2 separate regions of the Homo sapiens genome follow, and region 1 is linked to region 2. Evidence: promoter capture Hi-C in 16 types of primary human blood cells and fetal thymus (Javierre and others, 2016). All regions are on one chromosome and are shown on one strand. Each heading gives the region's core, a stretch centred on a gene start or on the middle of the fragment in contact. The rest is flanking DNA. Distances are from core to core; before and after follow the strand shown.

What was found. The method cuts DNA at HindIII sites, captures the fragments that hold promoters and counts their contacts. A CHiCAGO score of 5 or more calls a contact.
Region 1: a contact is called between a fragment that was not itself captured here and the fragment with the promoter of H4C3 in region 2, in 1 of 17 cell types (total B cells). The highest score is 5.3, in total B cells.

What each region holds. Positions count from the first base shown.
Region 1 is chr6:27,076,824-27,083,671 of GRCh38, reverse strand. It overlaps the pseudogene VN1R11P. Among named protein-coding and RNA genes, the nearest start is that of TRP-CGG2-1, 11 kb to the left of the region's middle. RefSeq lists a silencer at 4,837-4,916. The HindIII fragment of the contact is 1,731 bases long and covers 3,976-5,706 here.
Region 2 is chr6:26,100,362-26,107,587 of GRCh38, reverse strand. H4C3 (H4 clustered histone 3) reads right to left here and starts at 3,655. Exons shown (of 1, transcript NM_003542.4): 1 at 3,251-3,655. The coding sequence starts at 3,640. The coding sequence ends at 3,329. H1-6 (H1.6 linker histone, cluster member) reads left to right here. Exons shown (of 1, transcript NM_005323.4): 1 at 1-176. The coding sequence ends at 118. RefSeq lists enhancers at 3,293-3,983, 4,008-4,117. The HindIII fragment of the contact is 10,429 bases long and covers 1-7,226 here.

The DNA of each region.
Region 1 (6,848 bases), core at 3,592-6,091, 970 kb before region 2:
ACTTGTCATGCAGACCTCAGCTTGAGCCTCCCCCTCATGCAGGCTCTGGGACTGATGGTGATGGCCTGGACCACAGTGAGGAGACTGCTGGTGCAGATGGAAAGGCCTCGAGCCACCCTCTCCAGATAAGCAACAATTTTACAGCCTGTATCATCTAGGAAGTTTTTCAAACCAAAAGCTGCTATTGTCTTGGGCATTCCTTTGGAAAATAGAAGTATGATATTTGTAAAAGCTAAGTGAATAAGAATAAAGTGTAAAGACTTCTTCTCAGTCCCCCAAAAGAAAATGCACATATAGTTTACCAAAACCAAAACATTCCCCACAATGCCAAGTCCAGTTAGAAACAGGAATATTGTTCCCTTGATAATATTCAAAGCCATTTCTAACTTCATGGGCAGAAAATATTTAGATCAAGGAAACACTGTATGAAGAAAGTACCAGTTATGATGATATATATGTATCTGCAAAAAAATCATATCATAGCACATTTCTAGTGGATAAAGGAAATCATAATATATGTAACAGAGCAGATTTTTGTCCAAAGAACTGTAGTCCTTTCCCTGTGACACTCTTTGATGAACATACCATGTGACCTTAAATGTCATCTTGGAAGAGGATACAAAAATCTAAATTTGGGAAACAGATTTTGTTTTCCTGATCTCCATAGCTGCAAGACCAACTTGCTTGTTCAAATTCTGATATATCCCACATATTTTAAGTCTCAGCATATGCTGAATTGAACTAAAACAATTCCCCCAACCTGAATGTCTCCATTTTCTACTTATTCTTAATATTCCTATCAGCCAATTTCAAAAACCTGGTGCTCACCCTTAACCCCTCTACCTCTTCCACATTCAACAGACAGACACTCATAAAATCATGTTGTTTCAACATCTTTAACATTTCTCAAGTTTAACAATGTTTTATCTTCTGTGATACTTCTTTTATTCATTATGCCTATATGTCTATCATTTTGATTAGTATAACAATTTCTGGTTTATCTCTTCTTATTTTCATATCTTTGATTTATATTCCTTAATATTTCTGAGTTGTCTTTCAAGACCCCGAACTGAATCTGTAATTTCAGTACTTACAAGTTTTCAGTGGGTTTTCCAAGTACTCCATATAAAGTCAAACTGCATAGCATTTCACTGTAGGACCTCAAATGTTAATGGTTAATCAGCCAAAGACCTTCAGGAACAAGCCTGTTGCTGAAAAACAATGAGATACATGGACTGGATGTAGCCAGAGAAGGTGCTCTAGAGGAACCATAGAATGTCACTCTACAAGGGCATTTAGGAGAGGTCTGAGTTCCCACTGATGGATCTGAGGGGCCCCTAAGCGGAGTTGTTGATGTGTTGATGTTTCTCAAGGGCCATTAGGAGAGGTAGATTAATTAGCTATTGCATACTGTCACGAGATGAAGGCAGTTTATAAATTAGAGATCTCTGATGTCTGGATATACAAGGCAGGTTGGGGCTACATTGGTAAGAAAAGAGTCATCACTCAAATGGTGCAATTATGGCAGTTTACAACTGCTGTGTAACCAGTGAGTCCAGTTGACTCTGTAACCAGATCTACCTGTGTCTGTTCTCCCAACATTGGTAACAGGAGAGCTACTTTGATCTTTACCAGTCCAAGCTAATTTTTACTCTTTTTGTCTGAACAGGATTTTACTCTTTCACAATCAACCTCTCCAATCTCACTTCTTTTCCAGAACTTACATCAAACTACAAATAAATCCCCCAAAACAAAAGAAACCAGGATGTTTGATCTAACCTTTCTATAAGCCTTGTCCCCTTTCATTTTCTACTAATCACTAAGAGATGCCTTAGATTTATCTTAATTTGTCTTAAAGGTCCCTGGCAGTGTGAACTGCCTGAATTTAGGCTTGTACTCAGGTCTTATACCAGGAAACTTTATAACTTTTGGAATATTAGTTATTGCTTTTCTGCCTCAGTTTCCTCCAGTGCCAAATGAAGAGACTAACATCTATATCAATGCATTAAACAAAGCATTACATGATCTGAACTGGATAGCCTATAGTGAAATGAACTACAGGCTTTAATAACAAGAAGAGCAGTATGGACTAATAGGTTTGGAGTAAGAACTGGTTACATATTTAGTCAGAAACCTGGAATTTGTCAAAAATGAATGTCCTGCATACACTTCACCACCCTGATGTCCTTATCAAATATTTTTATGTTTGTTTCTTCTTATCTTTTTCTAGGGTTTCACAGTTTTCTGGCCCTCTCTTCATCTTCCCAAGGTTCCAAAGCTCTGATTCAGATTAGAGATTAGCTTCTGTAATACTAATAAGACACTTCCATTTTTTTGACTGAATAATAAGAAAAATATCAGAGGAAGGAAGGGTGACTGGTCTTCCAAGTTGTTTTTGGAATCATGATTGAAAACTATTTGAAAAAACATGCTTCACATTCAGATAGATGTGTAGTGCTCCATCCAGTTCTAATACCTAATAGCTTAGGCAGGTAAGGAAGTGCACCCATTTCAGCTCCAGTTTTCTCAACTGAAAATGAGATTAGTGCTCCCTGCTACATAATGCCAGGGTAAATTTACAGGGTTACATCAGGTTATACTTACTTATAGCCTGGCCAAAAATAAAAGTGGAAAATTTCTGAAGAGCAAGTATGATTTTTAATCATAATGATTGTTAATAGATGCTTCCATTAAACTGGCATATGGTTAATGAAGTTGACTTCTGTATATGATACAATATTATATATTGGATTAGGAGACTTTAAGGATGGATGCAGAAAGAAAACCTTCAAGATATACACACACACTCTCTCTATCTCTTTCTTAATGAATTAACTACTTAATAGGTAAAGACAAAGTTGGCCCACTTGCAAATCACAGAAATGCACCAAAAACGATATGAAGAAATTTGATGAAAGCTAATAATGCTGATAGAGTTATAATGCAGGTGAAAATGTAAGCCTAAAAATGAGTTTTTTCTAGAAACCTGAAAAGCTTTTTTATCTTTGTGATTTTTGGATGAAACCAAAGAGGGAACCTTATAGGAAGAACCACCCCGGACCTCTCTTACAGTACAAGATCCTGAACACTGGGACAAAGATGCTCAAGCATTTCTAGGGTCATCTTCTGGAAATGGTCCCCTTCATGTTTATGACCCCAGGTAAAGATTAGATGCAGAGTCAAGGTCCTCTGGCTCACATAAACTCCCTTGCTTAGTCAAAGAACAAAGCAAGATGCATACTTCTGAGGGAAATATTATATGGCATATGTGAATAAATAAAAGAATTGTCAGGTCTACTCACCTTGGTAGCTATGGTGTAGTAAAGCTCTGGGTTAGTCCTTCTGGCAAGGTAAGGCTCCCCAAGCCATGTTTGTGCCTTCTGGATTTGTAGAGTTCTTGGTTAACAAACTATTACCAGGACTCAAATTTTCAAAGTTGTTTTTCTGTCAGGAAGACGGAAACCCTCTGCAGGATCCTAGTCCCTGAAGTACATTTTCCCCTCTGTCTCCACAATTACGTTTGTTTGCCTCAGGAGTTATTTCAGTCTTAATTGGGGTTTAACTATTGCAATAGAAAGATGTACAGTGAAAAAGTAAACAGCTAGCCAAGTTTCTGTATCCAGGGTTTCCCATTTTTCTGGCCCTCTCTTCATCTTCCCAAGGTTCTAATGTTTTGAATAAAAATGAGAACCAGGTCAGAAGACACATAATAAGTCACTTCTTTTCTTTCTCAAGGCTTTCTTTATACGCAGGGTTATGATAGATGATGACCAGCCCTGGAGACTCTGCTTTCTGAGCTTATCCCAACCACAGGCCTGGACAGGACGAGCGTCACCTTGCTCTACCGATGAACGTTGGCAGTTTGCAGTCTTTGCCATCAGTGATTGTTTTATTCTTTGTCTGTGAAACAACAAATGGGACTGGAAAAGCAAAAGAACCCTCCATTTTTATGAGCTAATCCTGCCTTATAAAGCTTCATAATACTTCTTTAATTCATTATACCCAAGAATGATCCTTCTATAGGTTATTCATTCTGCCCTCAAAAAATGACCTTTCCAGACACTAATGCAAAGGACTATACATAAATGGTGACACAGGGTTGAGATTAGAGGTGAGAATGGAATTATTTTTCTCACTGAGCTGGGCTGTGAGGCAGGCTTCTGGTCACTGGTCTTCATTCAATGTGACAGTATCCTCATCTAGAGGTGCACCTGGTTCATATCAGATGCCAAATTACTTGTGCAATAAGTGAGCAAATAGCCCTTTGAGATAAGTACTCTTTTCATCCCTGATTTTGAATGAGGATATTCAGGCACAGAGAGATTGAGTAAATTGCCCAGTGATACACAGATAATGAATAGCAAAATCAGGATTTGAACCCAGATAATCTAATTCAGGTCATGTGTTCTATTGCCCATTGTTTTGCATGTGTCTTTCTGGGTCAGCCTCTCTTGCGATCTGTTTCACTGTCTAGGAGAGGTGGCTAACCCAGTCTCAGTATCAATCCCATCTTGCACAGACTCTGTCTCCATCTTTTTCTCTGCATCCTGGTTGTGTGTCCTTCAGCCTCTCCTTCTATTTGGAGTAATTGCCACATGGTGGCAGTGTTGTAGGACTTTCTCCTTAGTTCAGCTAAAAACCGGGTTCTTGTCACATAACCAGGAAAGATTAGGCTTGAGGATGCATAGAAGGGTGAGAAAAATGGAATTTATTGCGCGAAAAAGGAAAAAGAAATACTTTCAGCAGAGTGAGAGGGAGGCCTGTTAACCTGCTCCTGCCCCACCACACAGGAACACAAGAGGCTGGGCTCCTCCCCTCTGCAAACCACGCTAACTTCGTGGCTCCACCCCCTTTTCCCAGTGCACAGGTGGGTCGGAGGTTCTCTGGGGAGCCCTTTTTACTCGGCTGTCTCAACAGTTTCGGGGTTTACATGTGAACTTTAATGATTTCTGGCTGGGTTACATTGGATGGGCAATATTTGATGAATTACTTGGCCTCTCCATTGCTATACTTTTTCTTATGTAAAATGACATTGAAAACAAGATGCAAGATGAGCCTAGAGAATCTTGTTGTGTCAAAAAGTAAGAATGAGCTCAAAGAATGGTGAGAATCTGTCAAATAGGGAGCCAGCTTGAAGGGACTCCCTCCAGCCAAATTTGAGAAAATTTGAGAATCAAACTGAATAATGATTTTAAATGATTGTTACCTATTGGATACTACAAGAATCCATTAGTCCACAATTAAAATGAATAAATGAGGGAGAAGGAAAAGACCTAACTTTCAATGAAAAAGCAACTAGTAAATGTAAAAGAAATAATGAAATTAGAATATCACCACTCGATGACTATCATAATAATAATTTCTTCAGGAAGGAATCATCAATGGGTGCTAAAACTAATAGGTGGAAGTTTAGGTGAGCAGGATATCAATATTGCCTCAAAGTGTCTTCCCCAAAGATTTACTAATGACAAAGAGTAAAACAGTAACATTACACTGAACACCAAATAGATACCAGTAGACACCAAGTGATGGCAGCTAACACTGCCTGGGATGAAACACACCAACAGCACGTGAGCCTTGACATCATGCGCTGAGAACTCATAATAAATTCTACCGTATTCCTGCCAAAGGGGTCACCCTGAATCTAATTACAAGGAAAAATCAGAAAAACTCAAATTGAAGCACATTGTAGAAATGTCTCAAGCTTTTATGACAACAACATCATAAAATACAAAGAAAGACTCAGGAACTTTTACTGGATGAAGGAAGCTACAGAGAGATGACAACTGCATATTAATGTACCATGTGACCTTGGATTATCTTTTACCATAAATTGTATCACTGGGACAATTGTTGAATCTAAACATGTTCTATCAAGTGAATAGTACCATTGTATTAATATTAATTTCCTGATTTTAATCATTGCACTGTAGCCACGTAAAAGAATATTCTGCTTTTAAGAAATAAACCCTGGGGTAATTATGATTAAAACATCAACAACCATGACAAATGTTATGTTAATAATTTCAAGAAAAAATATTTGGCCAAAAATGTGAATTGCTTAGTAAGATACCATTCATTGAATACATTAAATCCTGTAAAACAACACTATTTATTATTTTTAATATTTCCATAAGTAGTAATACTAGAAAACTCTGAATGGGGGAGAAAAGTAGTAAAATTAGAAAACCGAATTGGGGAGAGAGTGAATATGACTGAGGAGAAAGAAAAGATAGTAGAGTTAGGGACTACTAAAACTTTTTAAATTATTTCAATTTTTTTTTCGTTTTTTTTTTTGAGATGGAGTTTCACTCTCGTTGCCCAGGCTGGAGTGCAATGGTGCAATCTCGGCTCACCGCAAGCTCCACTTCCCAGGTTCAAGCGATTCTACTGCCTCAGCCTCCTGAATAGCTGGAATTACAGGCATGAGCCAACATGCCCTGCTAATTTTGTATTTTTAGTAGAAATGGGGTTTCTCCATGTTGGTCGGGTTGGTCTTGAACTCCTGGCCTCAGGTGATCCACCCTCCTCAGCCTCCCAAAGTGCTGGGATTAGAGGCGTGAGCCACCATGCCCGGCCTATTTCAATTTTTTAAAACAAGAAACAGGTGTGGTAGACTATAGACATTCGTAAAGCCTGTTGGCTGTTCATGGGTTTCCAATATCGTTTCAGGTGAATGGATAAACAAACGGTGGTATATCCATACAGTGGAATACTATTCATCAATAAAAGGAAATGAGGCATGAAGACACAGAAAACACGGGGAAACTTAAATGCATATTGTTAAGTGAAAGAAGCTAGTCTGAAAAGGCTGCATACTATATGATTCCAACTATATGACATTTTGG
Region 2 (7,226 bases), core at 2,406-4,905:
GGCTAAAGGAGCCAAGGGTAAGCAACAGCAGAAGAGCCCAGTGAAGGCAAGGGCTTCGAAGTCAAAATTGACCCAACATCATGAAGTTAATGTTAGAAAGGCCACATCTAAGAAGTAAAGAGCTTTCCGGGAGGCCAATTTGGAAAGAACCCAAAGGCTCTTTTAAGAGCCACCCACATTATTTTAAGATGGCGTAACACTGGAAACAAGTTTCTGTGACAGTTATCTATAGGTTTAAGTTGTGATGCAGCTGAGTTGAAAAGGCTTGAGATTGGAGAATTAATTCAGGCCAGGCTTCAAGACCATCCTGGGCAACATAGCCAGACTACCATCTATACCAGGGGTCCTCATTTCCCCGGCCACCGACCGGTAACCGGTCCCTGTCCATGGCACGTTATGAATTGAGCCGCACAGCTGAGGGGTGAGCGAACATTAACCAACTGAGCTCCACCGCCTGTCAGGTTAGCTGCAGCATTAGATAGATTCTCATAAGCTCAAACTGTATTGTGAATGGCACATGCAAGGGATCTAGGTTTCAGGCTCCTTGTGACAATCTAATGCCTGATGATCTGAGGTTGGAGCAGTTTTAGTCCGGAAATCATTGCTCCCAGCCCCTGCACCCCCTGGTCCGTGGTATAATTGTCTTACACAAAACGGTCTCTTGTGTCAAAAAGGTTGGAGACTACTGGTTTTACAAAAAAGTAAATTAGTCAAGCATGGTTGGCACGCTCCCTTAGTCCCTGCACCCAGGCGTTTAAGGATACAGTGAGCTATGATGGTGCTACCTCACTCCAGCCTGGGTGACAGCGAGTCAGACGTTGTCTCAAAACTTAAAAAAAAAAAAAGTTAAAACAGAAAAAGGGCTTCTTGTCAGAGACTGCCGTATATCTAGAGGTCCAGGAACTAAAAAGTCTGATGTCCAATCCTGAAAAGCTCGATGGTGCACTAGAGGAGGCTTTTACATGTAAGAGCATCTAAGTTCTGGAAATGCCAGTGTCAGGGAAGGGAAGTGGAGAGCAATTTGGCATCCAAACATAACTTGCTGATACTTTTTTTTTTTTTAACACAAGTACTACATTCTAGTCTTTCTGTGGTGTCATTGTAACTATTGTTTCTTAATATGCTATCCACTGACTTCAAGGGATCAATAAATAGGAATCAAGGTGTCCCAGAATATGGATTAGGGGAGTTTTTTTGTTGTTGTTGTTGTTGTTGTTTTTCATCTATTCATTATCCTGTAGCTGAAATTTAGAATTTTCTTCCATTGTGTGTGACTGATAGAAATAACAAATTTGTAGGTTATAGTTGTTGCAAGAATCTGGAAATCGTGCTTGCTTATTTCCGAAGTACTATTAGGTATATCAACAAAAACACACATATTACGGTCAAGTGGTTTGATAATTATTTTAATATTATTGGTCTAATACAATTGTAACCCTATGAATTACTTTAAGTATCTTATTTATGAAAAGAATCTGTAAGTTTCATCAGACTACCAGAGCATACCGAAGACTGAAAAATTTTAAGAATCCAAACCTTAATGGAAATGTTGGAGGCTGCCCAATTAGGTTCTGAATTCCACCTTCCTGAATCACAAACTTGTTTTAACTCTCAGTCTGAGGTAAACTACGTTTCTCTTTAAACAGACATAGTTTAATTTTCCTTTGATTTTTGATTTAGTATTCTTACTGATCATCATAAATAACCAATGCTAATGTTAGTCTACTTTGGACCATGGTATTTCGAGAAACTTTGAACAAAGTCCCCTGCAAAACTATGCATTGCATTATTTCACATACATTTATGTTTTCCAGACGGTTCAATAGTACCTCACTTTTCTGAACTTATTTGTATAGTTTGGCATCTTTTTAAAAATTGTGTCCTATAATGAAAGGTTGTAAACATTATGTTTTAAATTTGTATAGATAAAATCAACCACAGACCTTTCCTTGCTTGGATGTAATTGCCATTGTTTCCCAATGAGTTCGGAATTACTAGGATTGTGCAAAAATATGCCTCACTTGCCTGACATAGCAGAGAGCCATTTTGCCTAAATGCTGTGCCCAGCAATGGACTGTCACCAGATTCTCATCACATACAGTGAGGATGAACAACTAGCCTCTCCCAGCAGCTGGCCGGTCTCTCAATAATATGGGACTCCCTCAAGATGGCTTCCTGCACCTTTGCTCCTCTAGCCTTGTATGTATACAAGGCTAGCATGCCTGGCATACATAAGGTTAAAAACAAAATCAATAAGTTATGGTTCTTCCTCCAGTTCTGGGGATTATTAGACCACTTTTTTGTTTTGTTTTGTTTTGGATGGAGCCTCGCTCTGTCACCCAGGCTAGAGTGCAGTGGCACAATCTCGGTTCACTGCAACCTCTGCCTCCTGGGTTCAAGCAGTTCTCTGGCTCAGCCTCCCACGTAGCTGGGATTACAGGTGCCCGCCACCACGCCCGGCTAATTTTTGTATTTTTAGTAGACGGGGTTTCACCATCTTGGCCAGGCTGGTCTTGAACGCCAGACCTCGTGATCCACCCACCTTGGCCTACCAAACTGCTGGGAATACAGGCGTGAGCCACCGCGCCCGGACTTAGACCACTTTGTTTTGGCCAATAGGACAACAGCCATAGAACCCTCCGCAAATGAGAGCTTGTCCCTAAAGATGCTTTATTTACATAGCTGTGTGCCGCATGAGCCAAAAGGTGATAACCTTTGTTCAACACGCGCCTCCAGCCCTTCGGTTAAGTCCAAAGTACCATTCTTAGAATGCTCTAAAATACATAATTTTTTTTTTTTTTTTTTTTTTTTTTTTTGAGGAGTCTCTCTCTGTCTCCCAGGCTGGAGGGGAGTGGCGCGATCTCGGCTCACTGCAATCTCTGCTTCCGGGCTAGCTGGGCCTACAGGTGCAGACCACCACGCCCGGCTAAGTTTTGTATTTTTTTTGGTAGAGGGGGTTTCACCATTTTGGCCAGGCTGGTCTCGGATTCTTGATCTCAAGTGATACACTAGCTTTGGCCTCCCAAAGTGCTGGGATTACAGTCGTGAGCCACTGCGCCCAGCAAAATGCTTTTTGTGGAGCCAATCACTTTATTAGCGCTTACCTCTCTATGCCTACTTTATGCTTTGAAATTTTGTCACAGTGTGGCCGGTCATGGCAAACACAATTCATTCTTATGCAGGATGTCACGGTTATTTCTGTCATCCAAACTCATTCTCGCAACGCATTTCAGCTCTTTAAACGACTTTGTGAGCGGCCCTGAAAAGGGCCTTTGGGTTTTTTTGTTTTTGTTTTTTGAAGTTCTCAGGAGACCGCGTATTCTTAGATTCAGCCGCCGAAGCCATACAGAGTGCGCCCCTGACGTTTTAGGGCATATACTACATCCATGGCTGTGACAGTTTTGCGCTTGGCGTGCTCCGTATAGGTGACGGCGTCTCGAATAACGTTCTCTAAGAAAACCTTAAGCACACCTCGAGTCTCCTCATAGATAAGACCGGAAATGCGCTTGACGCCACCGCGCCGAGCCAAACGGCGAATAGCCGGTTTTGTAATGCCCTGGATGTTATCCCGGAGCACCTTACGATGGCGCTTAGCACCACCCTTCCCCAAGCCTTTTCCGCCTTTGCCGCGACCAGACATGATTCCTATCGCAGTGGAAGGTATGAACTGAAACAGTTCCTTAAATACAAACTTGGCGGACCTGATTGAAAACAACATGAGTTGGCGCGGTTTTTTTTTTTTTTCAAATTTGGTCACCAAGTGGGTGGAGCAAGAAAAACTGTTTCATTATGGTTCATTGTTTTGATTGGCCAGTGACAGCTTGCTCTTTGTGGGAGTGGAAGGGTGTTTGCAAGTTGAATGCGCTGTATTCCTGTCAGCTTAATGACGCTAAGCATAGCCCCATTCCACATTTCTTTTTATTTCCACTTGCTAACTAATAAATTACGGAATAGTTTATTGGGGAACATACAAATAATGTTTAAAGGAGGTCAGATTTATAGGTCAAGGGATTTACCCTCCCAATCATTTTAATATTTTTATTTAAACCAGGCATTTTGATGGCCTTCTCTGTGCTGGACAAGGTATAAGTTTGGCTATGAAGTTTCACTCCTAAAGACCCTATGTTTTGGGAAGGCAAAAAGGTAGCCAAATAATTGCAAATTAAAACCTCATAAGTGCAAACTTCTTCCTCGTCACTTTCCCTATCTCGATTCAAATATTTGTTGAATGACTCATTTTTCTGCAAAAGTCTGAGAGAGACAGGGAATATAAACTTAAGTCTGGATAATATGTTTTCCCGGGACGCTCTTCCTGGTCTGCTGTGCCTGTTTGCTGTGCCTGAAATTCCAAACACTCTTCCCTTCCCTCCGTTTTTAATCCCCTTTCAACTTGCTACAGCTTTAGAGAAAAGAACATTCGTTTTGTACAGTTGGGGATTAATTGAAGTGTAGGGCTAATACTTGATTAAGGTCATTACAAAATCTACAGGGTCTTCCTCTGGGAGGTTTTTGTGATAAGATTATTGGTGTTAAAATAAGGCTAATCCCCTTGAAAAATAAATAGAATAGCAGAATTGGGTCTGAATGTGGTTTGAAGAAAGGGACTTCTCAATTCAAAATTTTATTCTTAGCTTCCTGCGGGAGCTTTCCAGAATGCCCATAAGATCCACTTTTGTTTAAAAAACAAAAACAACCCCACCCACCACTCTCTGGTTAATAAATGAATTTCTATTGGGAATATTTAGAATGGGGCTGTGGCCTGTGAGAGACATTATATAGTAACCTCAGACTTGCTCACATGAAGAGAAGAAATCCAGGAATGGAGAAAAAAGACCCAGGAAAGGCCAGAATGCTCTACATGTCATATTGTTTGTATCACTTCTGAAATAATTGATTACATTCTTCTGCCCCAAATTGAGTTCTTAGGTTCTTCCACTCACTGTCCACATGCCACAACACAGACCTTATAACTAGAGACTTAGCTAGGAAGAAATGTCAAACATTACAGAGAAAAAATGCAGAGTCTGAGATCATAAGTAAAACTCTGAAATCTCAACATGCCTTTTAATTCATGAAAATAAAAAATATAGCAGCATATGCAATATGACAATTCTCTGAAAACATACATCATGTGAACTACCCTGGAACACATCTCGCCAAGTGCCATCTTCATTTTAACCAGAGGTCTAGGATGCCTTTCCTTTATTTTGCCTATTATATCATTTATAAAACCCCATTTTTATTTTGATATTTTATTTACTTTCTATTTCCTGCTCCTAATATCTCCTTTCTAAACTTTTCTCAATGACAGTGACTCAAAAACAATGAATGTCAGAACAAATATTTAAAGGATCTGTACATGTAGATATATATATTTAAAATGGATTCTTCCACTCTGCGAAGAATTCAGGCATACTCAATCTTATGGTTAGGGAGAGATTAGGCTCACTCGCCTAATCTGTATGGCTTCTCGTTCGCTTTCCATTTCACCTTCCTCTCACCCATCAGATCAAACTCATTCATTGAACAAGAGACCTAAGCCCTTCAGATTAAAACTCTGCAAACAAGTTGTGGTTGAGAGGATACATGAAGCATTCAAACAAATAAATCTATGATATTAATCAGAGGTTAATCTATGATATTAATCAGAGGTTAATGCAGTGGCTCACGGCTGTAATCCCAGCACTTCAGGAGGCTGAGTTGGGAGAATCGCTTGAGCTCAGGAGTTCAAGACCATTTTGGGCAACATAGCAAGTCTTCATCTCTACTTAAAAAAAAATAACCAGAGGTGTTATGAAAATATAAATTGTCCAGAACTACCCTCCACAAACTAACTCTCTCAGAATATTCGATATGAGGAATGAAATATGGTGTGTGTGTGTGTGTGTGTGTGTGTATGTGTGTGTGTGTGTGTGTGTATGCACCTATATATGGCACCTATATATTCAACAAACAATTCTGATAATTGGCCAGGGTTGAGAATGACTAGCAGCCCAGCATACACTATCAGTTTTAAGTATATAATTGCGCTTTAGTAAAATGTAAAGAAATCCCAGAGTAGAAATACTTTTAAGCTATATTACAGGTGAGAAAATGCATAAGTATAGTCTCACCCAACTTAGACTATGGGGGCTTTATAATGTCACAACAGTTGTTTCCAGGCATTTGGGGACATCACCACTGGTCTTGGGCAAGAAACTCCTCTAGCCAATGGCTGATTTATCTCACTCCCATCTAAGGCTTCACTGCATTTCTCTTTTTCAGCAACCTAACTTATTTAAAAATATCCATTTTCTGATTCATTTTTTTCTGAATTAAACTGTCAGTACCATTGGCACACCTTTGGTTCCGTAGCATACCTGTGTCTCTGCTGTGTTTTTTTTTTACCTCCACTCCTTACTTTTCTAGAAAAAAATCTCTGCTTTTTCTTTTCAGTTTAAATTATTTCACAAAAAGTTTTCTTGACTTGCACTTCCTAGGCTTGCTGTCCTTGTGTGGGCACGCTCCCATAAACACTATTAATACACTTCGATTTGTTAAAAATAAAGATATCTGGACAGAAAATTTCTTTTCTTTTTTTAAGATTTTAAAATTTTTAATGTTTATTTTTTTCCTAGACTGGAGTACAGTGGCACCATGATGGCTCATGGTAGCCTACACTTCCCCGGGCTCAAGTGATCCTCCCACCTCAGCCTCCCAAGTAGCTGGGACTACAGGTGTGCACAACCACACCTGACTAATTTTGTTTATTTGTTTGTTTTGTTTTTTGAGATGGAGTTTCGCTCTTGTTGCCCAGGCTGGAGTGCAATGGCGGGATCTCGGCTCACCGCAACCTCTACCTCCCAGGTTCAAGCAATTCTCCTGCCTCAGCCTCCCGAGTAGCTGGGATTACAGGCATGCATCACCACGCCCAGCTAATTTTGTATTTTTAGTAGAGACGGGGTTTCTCCATGTTGAGGCTGGTCTGGAACTCCTGACCTCAGGTGATCTGCCCGCCTCGGCCTCCCAAAGTGCTGGGATTACAGGCGTGAGCCACCACGCTCGGCCACTAATTTTGTATATTTTGTAGAGATGGGCTTTCCCTGTGTTGTCCAGGCTGGTCTTGAATTCCTGGGCTTAAGTGATCTGCCCACCTTGTCCTCCCAAAATGCTAGGATTACTGGCGTGAGCCACCAGGTCTGGCTGGAAAGATAATTTCTAACATTATCCTCTCTTAAACATTTGTT